3 separate regions of the Homo sapiens genome follow, and all the other regions are linked to region 1. The links are contacts of gene promoters, found by promoter capture Hi-C in human tissues and cell types (Jung and others, 2019). All regions are on one chromosome and are shown on one strand. The core of a region is centred on a gene start or on the middle of the fragment in contact, and the rest is flanking DNA. Distances in the headings are between cores, read along the strand shown. Region 1 overlaps MAP4 (microtubule associated protein 4). Region 2 holds the start of CSPG5 (chondroitin sulfate proteoglycan 5). Region 3 holds the start of SPINK8 (serine peptidase inhibitor Kazal type 8 (putative)).

What was found. Contacts are between HindIII fragments. The study calls those that stand out against the background at their distance.
Region 2: the fragment with the promoter of CSPG5 here is called in contact with a fragment that was not itself captured in region 1 in 2 of the 25 tissues and cell types used here (liver and lymphoblastoid cells).
Region 3: a contact is called between the fragment with the promoter of SPINK8 here and a fragment that was not itself captured in region 1, in 1 of the 25 tissues and cell types used here (dorsolateral prefrontal cortex).

Annotation. Positions count from the first base shown.
Region 1 is chr3:47,981,006-47,984,505 of GRCh38, forward strand. All of the region lies in intron 2 of MAP4 (microtubule associated protein 4), which reads right to left. Among named protein-coding and RNA genes, the nearest start is that of MAP4, 34 kb to the right of the region's middle. The HindIII fragment of the contact is 4,461 bases long and covers 1-3,500 here.
Region 2 is chr3:47,577,206-47,580,705 of GRCh38, forward strand. It overlaps CSPG5 (chondroitin sulfate proteoglycan 5), which reads right to left and starts at 1,660. Exons shown (of 5, transcript NM_006574.4): 1 at 1,392-1,660; 2 at 1-723. The coding sequence starts at 1,488. RefSeq lists silencers at 871-960, 1,011-1,070, 1,111-1,160 and an enhancer at 2,285-2,989. The HindIII fragment of the contact is 21,614 bases long and covers 1-3,500 here.
Region 3 is chr3:48,332,013-48,335,512 of GRCh38, forward strand. It overlaps SPINK8 (serine peptidase inhibitor Kazal type 8 (putative)), which reads right to left and starts at 1,649. Exons shown (of 8, transcript NM_001080525.3): 1 at 1,523-1,649; 2 at 354-459. RefSeq lists a silencer at 1,994-2,194. The HindIII fragment of the contact is 10,965 bases long and covers 1-3,500 here.

The DNA.
Region 1 (3,500 bases), core at 622-3,121:
CTTTTTATGAGACAATTTGGCAGCCTATCAAATTCTGCAATACTCAACTCAACAATCAGTTTTAGGTATTTAGTTCAAAAAGAGACATAAAAGTATAAAAAAGTGAATATAAACAGAATGTTTATGATGGCACTGCTTAAAAACAACAAATGTCCACCAACAGATTATAATATTGTAAAATAGTACACAGTAATAAAAGAAATGAGAGCACTTCGTGTTACCGATACAGGAAGATAACAGGTATCTAATAGCTAAATATAGATAAAGGCCAAGACACCCTAGGGTATGCCTATAGTCCCAGCTATTAGGGAGGCTAAGGCAGAGGGGTGTCTTGAGTCCAGGAATTTGAGACCAGCCTGGGCAACATAGTGTGACCCCATCTCTAAAAATAAATAAATAAATAAATAAATTAGCTGGGTGTGGTGGCACACGCCTATAGTCCTTATCTCGTAATAAAAAATAATAATAATAAAAAAGAACCTGGCCAGGTGCAGTGGCTCAAGCCTATAATCCCAGCACTTTGGGAGGCTGAGGCAGGTGGATCACTTGAGGTCAGGAGTTCGAGACCTGCCTGGCCAATGCGGTGAAACCCCATATCTACTAAAATACAAAAAATTAGCCAGGCATAGTGGCGTGTGAATCACAACTACTCTAGAGGCTGAAGCACAAGAATAGCTTGAACCTGGGAGGCAGAGGTTGCAGTGAGCTGAGATCGTGCCACTGCACTCCAGTCTGGGCGACAGAGCAAGACTCCATCTCCCAAAAAAAAAAAAAAGCTTTATTCCCATATATTTACCTATGTGATTAGGGTTTCTTCACTATGATAGCTACAAAAACAGGAAAAATTGCCAATCCTATTTCATCAGAGAAAGAAATATTGATCCACAGACCCATGATTTAATTGAGAAAAATAACAGACCCCATCATCTCATAAGAAAAGCATTTCCAATAAAATTCAACTTGTATAGTAATAACATCAAAAATTACAACCTATGTTGGCCGGGCACAGTGGCTCATGCCTGTAATCCCAGCAATTTGGGAAGCCAAGGTGAGCAGATCACTTGAGGCCAGGAATTCGAGACCAGCCTGGTCAACACAGTAAAGCCCATCTCTACTCTTCTTGAGGAAACAAATAGGATTAAGTGAAAATGAAGGGAGATTTAAAAAAAACATAATACATGCAATAGACTGATAAATTTCCTCTGGACCAAGTTAAAACACAGAACCTTTGTCACAGGAACTTTAAAAATTAAAATTTAAGTTTACATACATATTTAGTAGCAGAAACATATTAGCACAATCAAGAAAAAACTTTTAAGCATAAAAATATATTACATTAGGATAAAAGTCTGAGACATGTTATGGAAATAAAAGTTCAAGGACTCAAAAGAAGAATTTAAATTTCCAATGATAAAGAACAGCTTGTTCGTATATTTTTAAACTAGATGATGGAAACCAAAATGCTATATATTTAGAAGCATTTGGATACATTTAGCAGAATGAGGTAACTTATTTTTATGTGGCAAAAGTAAAACATTCTCAAAATTACATGTTTTACAACTAAACTTTTGCTACAAAATTTTAGATGTAAACTTAATGTACAAAGAGACAGAATTTATCAGAATTCTGAGTATGTGACCAAAAGTTAAGACCACTACTTTAGACCAAGTTAAAAAGAAAGCTTGATATATACTGACAGAAAGTTTTCTAAGATAATAAACTAAAAAAAGCAAGTTAAAATTCATACGATTTGATTCCATTTGTAAAATGGAATCAAATGAAAGTAAAGCCACTAAATTTTTTATTGTATGTTTGTAACTGCAAAGAATAAAGTCTTAAAAGATCTACCCTTCTTGAGGAAATAAATAAGATTACATGAAAATGAAGGGAGTTTTCTTTGTTTTTTGTTTGAGACAGAGTCTAGCTCTATCGCCAAGACTGGAGTGCAGTGGCGCAATCTTGGCTCACTGCAACCTCTGTCTCCCGGGTTCAAGCAATTCTCCTGTCTCAACATCCCAAGTAGCTGGTAGCTGGGACTACAGGCGTGCGCCACCACTCTCAGCTAATTTTTTTATCTTCATTAGAGACAGGTTTTCACCATATTGGCCAGGCTGATGTCAAACTCCCGACCTCAAGTGATCTGCCTGCCTCAGCCTCCCAAAGTGATAGAATTACAGGCATGAGCCATGGCACCCGGCAAAGATTTTGACTTAATTTTTAAGAGAGAGGGTTTTGCTCTGTTGCCCAGGCTGGAATGCAGTGGTATAATCACACCTCACTGTAACCTCAAAATGCTGGGTTCAAATGATCCTCCTCCCTCAGCCTCCCAAGTATATGGTGACAACAGGTGTGCACCGCCACAGTTGGCTTATTTATTTATTTATTTATTTATTTAATTTGAGACTGAGTCTCCCTCTGTCACCCAGGCTGGAGTGCAGTGGCACAATCTCAGCTCACTGCAACCTCTGCCTCCCAGGTTCAAGCGATTCTCATGCCTCAGCCTCCTGAGTAGCTGGGGCTACAGGCATGTGCCACCATGCCCGGCTAATTTTTTGTATTTTTAGTAGAAACAGGATTTCACCGTGTTGGCCAGGCTGGTCTCTAACTCCTGACCTCAGGTGATCCACCTGCTTCGGCCTCCCAAAGTGCTGGGATTACAGGAGTGAGCCACCACGCCCAGACAATTCTATTTGTATAAAGACAGGGTCTCACTAAGTTGCTCAGGCTGGTCTCAAACTCCTGGGCTCAAGTGGTACTCCTGCCTCAGTCTCCCAAGTAGCTGGGACTACAGGCGTGAGCCACCATGATCAGCCTCGTCCACTGAGCTTTAATTCAATGCTACTTTATTTATTTTGTTGCTCAAATTTTTCCAGTGTTGGCTATTGGGAACTCTTTCAGTTGACTCCTGTGTCCCTCTGACACACTATCTCTGTCATTGTGGGCTTTGGAGCATAACTCCAACAGTCTTTTTATAAATGATCTGTGCAATTAAAGGTAATTTTTTTTTCCAGTGAAGGGCATAAATAATGAGATTTAATTGCGAATAATATGCATAATGGAAGTCTCATTTGCACATATCTGTTTACTTTCTCCCTGCCTTTCCTCCTGCCTCAGCCTCCTGAGTAGTTAAGACTACCACCACACCCAGTTAATTTTTTATTTTTTTTTTCTTTGTAGAGATGCAGTCTTGCTGTGTTGCTGGGGCTGGTATCAAACTCCTGGCTTCAAGTACTCTTCCCGCCTCTGCCTCCCAAAGAGCTAGGATTACAAGTGTGAGTCACCATGCCCGGCCTCCCTGGTATTTTTGACCTAAAATGTGCAAAAGGGAATTTCTGATTCATAAAATGTGACTTTCATATAAGATGCAGCAGAACACATTTCAACTGGCTTGGAAACCAGAAAATTATTCAAAAGCTATTTGCTTAGATACTAAAATAGTAGGTGAAAGTTGGATTAGATACAGGATACATACATAGCCTCAAAATATCTCCTCACAAATT
Region 2 (3,500 bases), core at 410-2,909, 400 kb before region 1:
CATCATAAAAGGATGTGGTGGGGTAGAAATCAGATTCATCGAAGGGGGTGAAATCATCGTATAAGTCAAGCAGGCTCCAGGAAGGGGTCTCTCCCTCAGTATCAGGGTGGTTCTCTGAGGTTCCTGGTGACCCTGGGAAGCTCCCCAGATCTGCGCCACGACCCTCACCATCCAGTCCTTCGAAGTAGTCGATGTCAATGATATCTGATGCCGGTTGGGGCTCCAGGGTGCCCTGAAATGGGTAAGTCAGCTCTGGCCCTTGAGGGTCGGGTGTGCTGCCCCCCAGGTTCAGCCAAACCTCCAAGGGGCTCTCCTTGGGGAGTTCAGAAGCTGGGCTCAGCTTGTCGCCGGGGGTGGGGGAGGGTGGCCCGCTGGCCTCTGTAGCCTCAGGAATGGCAGGGGGCATGATTGACTGCCCGAGGACCTCGTGGGGAGCCTGGAGCGTAGCTGGAAGGGCCTGGGCATCGCCGCTGCCCGCCTCTGCGGTCACTCCTCCCAGGCCTGGGCTGTCAGCTTCCAGCCAGGCGGTGCCGGTCACCGCAGCCGACTCCTGCAGCACCTCTTCTGGCCCGGCCAGCTCGCCACCGGGCGCCGTCCACGACGCCTCATCTTCCCCAGCCGCTGGTGGGCCGGCTTCTTCCCGCGTGTCGTTGGCAGGCGGCTCCCACGCCGGGCTGCCCTTCACCAGCTCTTCGGCCTCAACCGCGCTGCCCGCCTCACGCGCTGCGGGCGGGAGGGCAAGGGGCGGGACGTCAGGGCGGCGCGCTGAGGAGCCCTGGAGCCCCGGCCCGCCCCGGTCAGGCCCGCTCGCCTAGACCTGGTCAACCCAGACCTCGCCACCCTCAGACCCCACCGCCCCAGTGTGACCCCAGCCACCCGGTACCTCTAAGCCCCGTCCCGGAGTCTGCCCCCAAGACGAGGATCACACCCCGCCCAACGCCTCGCGGCTCGGCCCCGCCCGACCTGCCCCGCCGTCTGAAGAGCCAGGCCAGGGCGGCCCCCAGCTCGGCCCACCCATAAGTCTCACCCTCGGGAACCCACCCTGAGCCGCGTCCACTGGCTCCCGCCCTCAGCTCCAGGTCCCGCCCCGAAGTCTCACCCTCAGGCCCCGCCCCGGCCCCGCCCCGGCCCCGCCCCCGGCCCCGCCCCCAGTCCGCACCGCGGCCCGCGCGCTTGGGTCCCGGCTACCCCAACCGGGGTCGGCCCCCACGCGGGTCGGCCTTTCCCGGACCCCCACCACCTCCTGGGACCATTCCGCCGCCCGGCCGCGGCCAGGCGGTGCCCCGCCCCCTTGCCACAGCTCACAGCTCCACCTGTCCCCGCCGCCAGCGGGACCCCTGCCCTGGGTGGGGCACGAGGGCCGCGGGGGTCCCGGGCGCAGTCATACCTACCCGGCACGGCCCCAGAGGCCAGGACCAGCGCGGCCCCCAGAAACAGCAGCAGTGGCGGCGGCCCCCGGCCCGGGCCCCCGCCCCCGGCTCGCCCCATGGCGCGGCGCCCCGACCGCTGTCCGCGGTCCGCCCGGCTGGCTGCGCCCTCGGCTCGCCCGGCCGCCGCGCCTCCCGCCGGTTCTGCGGCCGCCTCAGCCCACGATGGGCAGCGCGAGGAGCCGCATGCCGCCGCCGCCGCCGTCCGCCGCTGTCCCCGGCGCGCCGCGCCTCCCCGCCTCCCGCGCCGCCGCTGCCGCCGCTGCGCTCAGCGCCGCCCTCACCCCGCCCGCCGCGCCGGCCCCGCCGCACGTAGCGGTGACGCCGGCCCCTTGGTCAGCCTGCCAGGGGAACAGACAGACCCCTCGCTGGGGACTAGGAGACACACGGACGGGGAGTGCGGGGCAGGCGGACGGGGAGCGCGAGGCAGGCGCACGGCGCGGCGCGCGGCGTTAGGCGGCAGGTGCACGGGCGGGAGACCTGTGGGATGGGGCCACGGTCCCGCCCCAGGTGAACAGGCGGCACGGGGCCCCGACCCGGAGGAACCCACCCGCCACGCGGCAAGCACGGAGGCGGGGACGTCGCGGGCCCAGTTACCCGCAGGGTCGGGGCGGGGTCCAGAAGAGCCGCAGGGGGCGGAAGCACGAGCCCCCACTGTGGAAACAAGCCAGGCCCGGGGCGCATGGAGCCTCTCGGATTCTGCACCAATCCCGTGTTCCGGGCGGGAAGGCTCTCAGGGAGGTCTCCGGGTCTCCACGAGGGAGGGGCGGGCGTTGGCAGAGCCTGGCAAGGGGGCGAAGCCGACCGCCCAGGCTCTAATCGGATCAGATCTAATCCGTTCGCAGCCAAAGCCACTAGCCTAGATCTCGCACAGCCAGGCCCGCCATAACGCATCCCGGGAGCAAGGGGTAAGACCCTCCCTGGGACTGCGGCTACCTCGCCTTCCTTCTAGTCTCCGGGCAGCCTGGGGAGCGGCCTTTAATCCTGGTCCCTTCTCCGGGATACGTCGTCCCCCAGGTGTCTCAGACCACCAAAACTCAGGTTCCTGGGTAGACCAGGGGGGTCTAGATCCCCAGCCGGGCACACATGGATGCTTGGCTTTAGAGTGATCTGTGGGGCCCATTCACAGCTTCAGGGCTCACAGGGCAACCCAAGACCACGCACCAGGAGGTCTGCTTAGTCGGCAGGAGGAACCGCAACCTAGTTACTTAGTTTATTCCCCCAAACCGACCGTCTACCCCTTAATGTGTTACTCACCCAAATGACAGTTCAGGGTATCAGCCCAAGGAGATAGGACAACTCCAGTATTTAAGAGACGGTCCCATTGCTGTCTTAGAAGACCAAATAAGTGACCAAGATGGAGATTCTATCTCCTAATCTTTCTGATACATATCTCCAGATGGAGTTGCCTTGGTTCAAAACCTGTTTCTCAGCAGAACTATGGCTGCAGCCTATTTGCCTAGCCTAGCGTCTCCACCTCTCCTGCCTGGTAAACTCCTCATGCCAGAAAAACTCAGTTCTTATCACCTTTCCCTCTATGAAGGCTTCTCAGCAGTTACACTTAATGCCCATCATCTCATCTTATCTACAGTTATTCCTCACTGGACTGCAAGGCACTTGAGTGCACAGGGCTGGTAACAGAGGGAGGCTCCATATCAGACAGGCATAAATGAACGAATGGCAACCACCCACACCCATCCCAGAACTGTGGTCTGGAGAGCCTTGAAAAAAGGGGTAAGGCTCTTTCTTTCATAGTTTCATGCTGCCTCCGGGGACCAAGTAAAATATGTTTGAAACAATAGCCTTCTCTAAACAGGGGACCATGTAGGGCTTTGCACTCACCTCAGCCACAGAGGCAGCAACGCACCCTTAACTGCCTCCAACCCATCTCTGCTTCCCTTGTGTGCAGCTTAACTCCTGTCACCTTTTACTGTATGTAGACTCTCTGTGTTCCTTTGCTTGTTTCCTCAACTCGGGTTGTGGCTGTCAGAGCGGCCTACCTCCTCCTTCCCTTCCTGAGGCCAGTCTGTGTGGGAAGACCTCATGGATGGGTTCCTTGATGTCTGGGGCATG
Region 3 (3,500 bases), core at 399-2,898, 350 kb after region 1:
GGCAGTGGGCCTTCCAGTGATACCCTTGAAATAAGGGGCATGGATGAGGGGGTGGCTTATTTCTATTCGGACAATCTTTTTTAAAGTGTCCTTGTAGACCGCACTGGAATCAAATCCCTATTAGGCATTCGATTTGCCCAGCCTTTCACTTTTCCAGAGCCTCCAAAGTCCACTTGCCTGAAGGCCATGACTAAAGCGGTGGCCTTCTTTTTATCCCGTTTGTCCAGTTCTGCCTGCTCCTTCTGATCTCTATTATAAAAACTGAGGCCAAGTTCTTAGTTTAAGTTTTGTTCCAGGCCTAAGGCGGATTTTGAAGTTTTTTTCTAATGTCTGCAGCTGAGTGATAAACTTACCCTTTAAGATTAGTTGGCCTTCAATAGATCCAGATGACAGAGAGGTATGCTTCCTCAATGCCTCCCTTAGTCTCTCCAGAAAGGCAGTAGGATTTTCTTCCTTTCCCTGTGTTATAGTGGGCATCATTGAATAATTCATAGGCTTCTTCCTAGTTTTTCTTAGTCCTTCTAGCATGCAAGTTAGCAAATGTCTGCGGCACCAATCTCCACATTCTGATTCTGCGTCCCATTGAGGGTCTACACTGGGAACTGCCTGCTGGCCTGTGGGGAATCGTTCTCTTTCCTCTGTTGTCATCCTATCATTGACCTGACTGAGATACCAGAGATTGCCAAACTCTTGGGCTGCAGTTATAGCGGCACTTCTCTCATTTGGGGTTAGTATCTGATCTAGCAGTAACATTATGTCTCTCCATGTCAGATCAAAGGATTGTCCTAACCCTTGTAAAACATCAATATAGCCATCAGGGTTATTTGAGAATTTACCTAGGTCTATTTTAATTTGCTTCAAGTCTGAGAGGGAAAAAGGTACACACACTCTGGGCTGAATTCTCCTCCTCCCACCACTTCAAGGGGGCATAATCTGGGAATATTGGCACTCTTTGGTTCATTGTTTACCCCTTTCTCTATCTCCTTTGGCACCGTTTGTGTTGAAGGGGGGTCATTATTAGTTGGGGAAGGAGCCGGGGGAACGCCGGGGCAGGGGGGTAGATTCTGAGGGCTTCCTGTAGGGCATAAATCACACTTTTAACATAATTGTGAGTTGTCTCTTAATGAAAAGAAAGTTTGCACATATGGCACTTCGCTCCATTTGCCCTATTTTCTACAAAAGAAGTCTAGCTGTAAGATGGTGTTATAATTTATACTTCCCTTGGAGGGCATGTTTCTCCCTCTTGAAGAGGATATTGTGGCCAGGGGTACTGCAGAAGAATATAAGTCGTTTCTTTCTTAGCATCTGAGGGTCAAATTGGTCCTAATTCTCTAGAATACATCTTAGGGGCGTTTTTGCCTGGGAGGGGGGAACGTTTAAAAAGAACATAGGGATGCCAGCACCCCTAGTCATTTTCTGATGAGCATTAGTCCTAGAGCGTCCTCTGTGGTCCTAATGCTTATTCCTTTTCAGGGTGCGTAACCACCCACGGACCTCTGCTTATCAGATTAGTTACACTCACCGATGTAGCAGTCCTGCACCTGTTTTCCTGCCCTTCTTGACCACAAAGAAAGGGGTCTGGGCTGCTGGATTCTAGTGGTCCTTTACCAGCGTGCCTGACATTGCCTTTGCACTCAGGAGTGAGTTCTAGAGCTGGGCTGGGTTTCTGAGTATTTCATAACAACCCAGTTGCCCCATCAAGATGCATTTTCATAAACAACAGTTCTTATGCAAATTCGTTTCAGAGAGGGTGTAGGTAACCTTTTGAGTCAGGATTGAGATAGAGTTTTTGCCCACTAGGGCCTTTGTCCTTTTCCTTTGTAGGAATATGCCTTAATTATCGAACTTAAGATTTTGTTGCCCTGGATTAAGTCCTTTTGGGTACGAAATATGAGAGATGGCTCCTGTTTATCCTATGTGCCTTTTTCCTACGAGAAGGAGAGCGAGGAGAAAAAGATGGGCTTGCTCTTTTTGTAAGTACTTTAAGGCTTGGCTGAGTGCAAACAGCTCGCAGTTTGTGCAGACCAATTATGAGGCAATTCTCCTAACTCTGCTTCCACAAGAGTTTCCTTATCAATTACTGAATACCCATTGTGGTTTTTTCCTCAATCGCCTGGGAGGAACCATCTATCGTCCTATCCTAAAGGAAGTTCCTCCTAGGTCTGGTTGGACCTTTGCATGGCAATTAAGATTTAAATCCCCTGTTAGGAAATCTGCTGGGTTAAGGGAATTATCAGTGGTTGGTGTTAAATCACCTTTTTCTAACAGAATAGCCCCATACTTTAAGAATTTTGAGCTAGTAAGCTACCTTTTTTTTTTTTTTTTTTTGGTCTTAGGATTGTTCTGAACTGGTGAGGTGTGCTCACAATGAGGTTTCCTCTAAAGGTTATTTTTCTACTTTATTCTGTTAGCAAAGCAGTTGCCACTACAGATTGAATGCATTTGGGCCATCCACGGGTTACTGGGTTCAGGATTTTTGATAGGAAGGCTATGGGTTGTCAGTGGTCTCAGTGTTTTCGGGCTACGCCCTTGTTTACACTGACAACAAGGTAGTATTGGAGTATTATAGGGTCGTGGAGAAGACCTTTAATTATCAATTATAGGTTCTAAATTTACCTTGGCTTTTAAAGGAATAGGGTACACTGTTTTTTCTTTACTACCTCTCTCTTTCCCTTTTTTCTTTCTTTCTCTCTTTGACTTTCTGCCTCTTCCTCTCTCTGTCTGTCTTTTTTTAGATGGATTTTGGAAACGCAGTGGAAGGACGTTCACTTGTTGCCCCAGTTTGCCACTATAGGAACATGTGCCTCCCTTTAATTTACTCAAATTCGTTTTCATCCTGATCTATTATGTTGTTGTAGACTCAGTTCCAGTTGTTAAAATACTGGGTTATCAGTTCTAAGGGCCTGGCCAAGGAGCCAAGGCTTGGAGATTGTATTGCAGGGGGTAGTAAACTGGGTAGAAATTAGGGGAGGAGAGCATCTTACACAATGGGAGAGCGATCTTCCTAGCTATTTACAAACTTGGGGCCCTGGCAAGGGTGGTGGGGAATGGGTCCCACATAACAGCCCATGTTGACAGCTATATACCTAAATTGGGAGGGACACCAGGGGCAAGACTCCCTGGGTTCATAGCCTAGATATCTAAGGCCACAGCATAGAGCTTCCTTAGATCTCTTTGGAGATACAACTTGCTCTAATACTTGGGAGAGGAAATGAAAGTCTGAAGCATTAGTACCTAGGAGGCAGGGATTGGAGGAAGTAGATTCAGAGGTAAGGAGAATTTTTGGGGCTACACTTTCAAGAAAGTCATGGTCGGGACCCAGGAGGTATGGGTCAGAAGGAAAGGTAGGGGTGCACACGTGGGCAACTGTTGAGTAGAGACTTCTGGCTGCACCATGATCTCAACCAGCCAATGCCGGGAGTTCAGGACGACAGCTTTCTGCCTCTAGTCGGCCCTCGGCTTCCCCCCAGGAAATTGTGAAAGCGGAAGCTGGTTCCAGG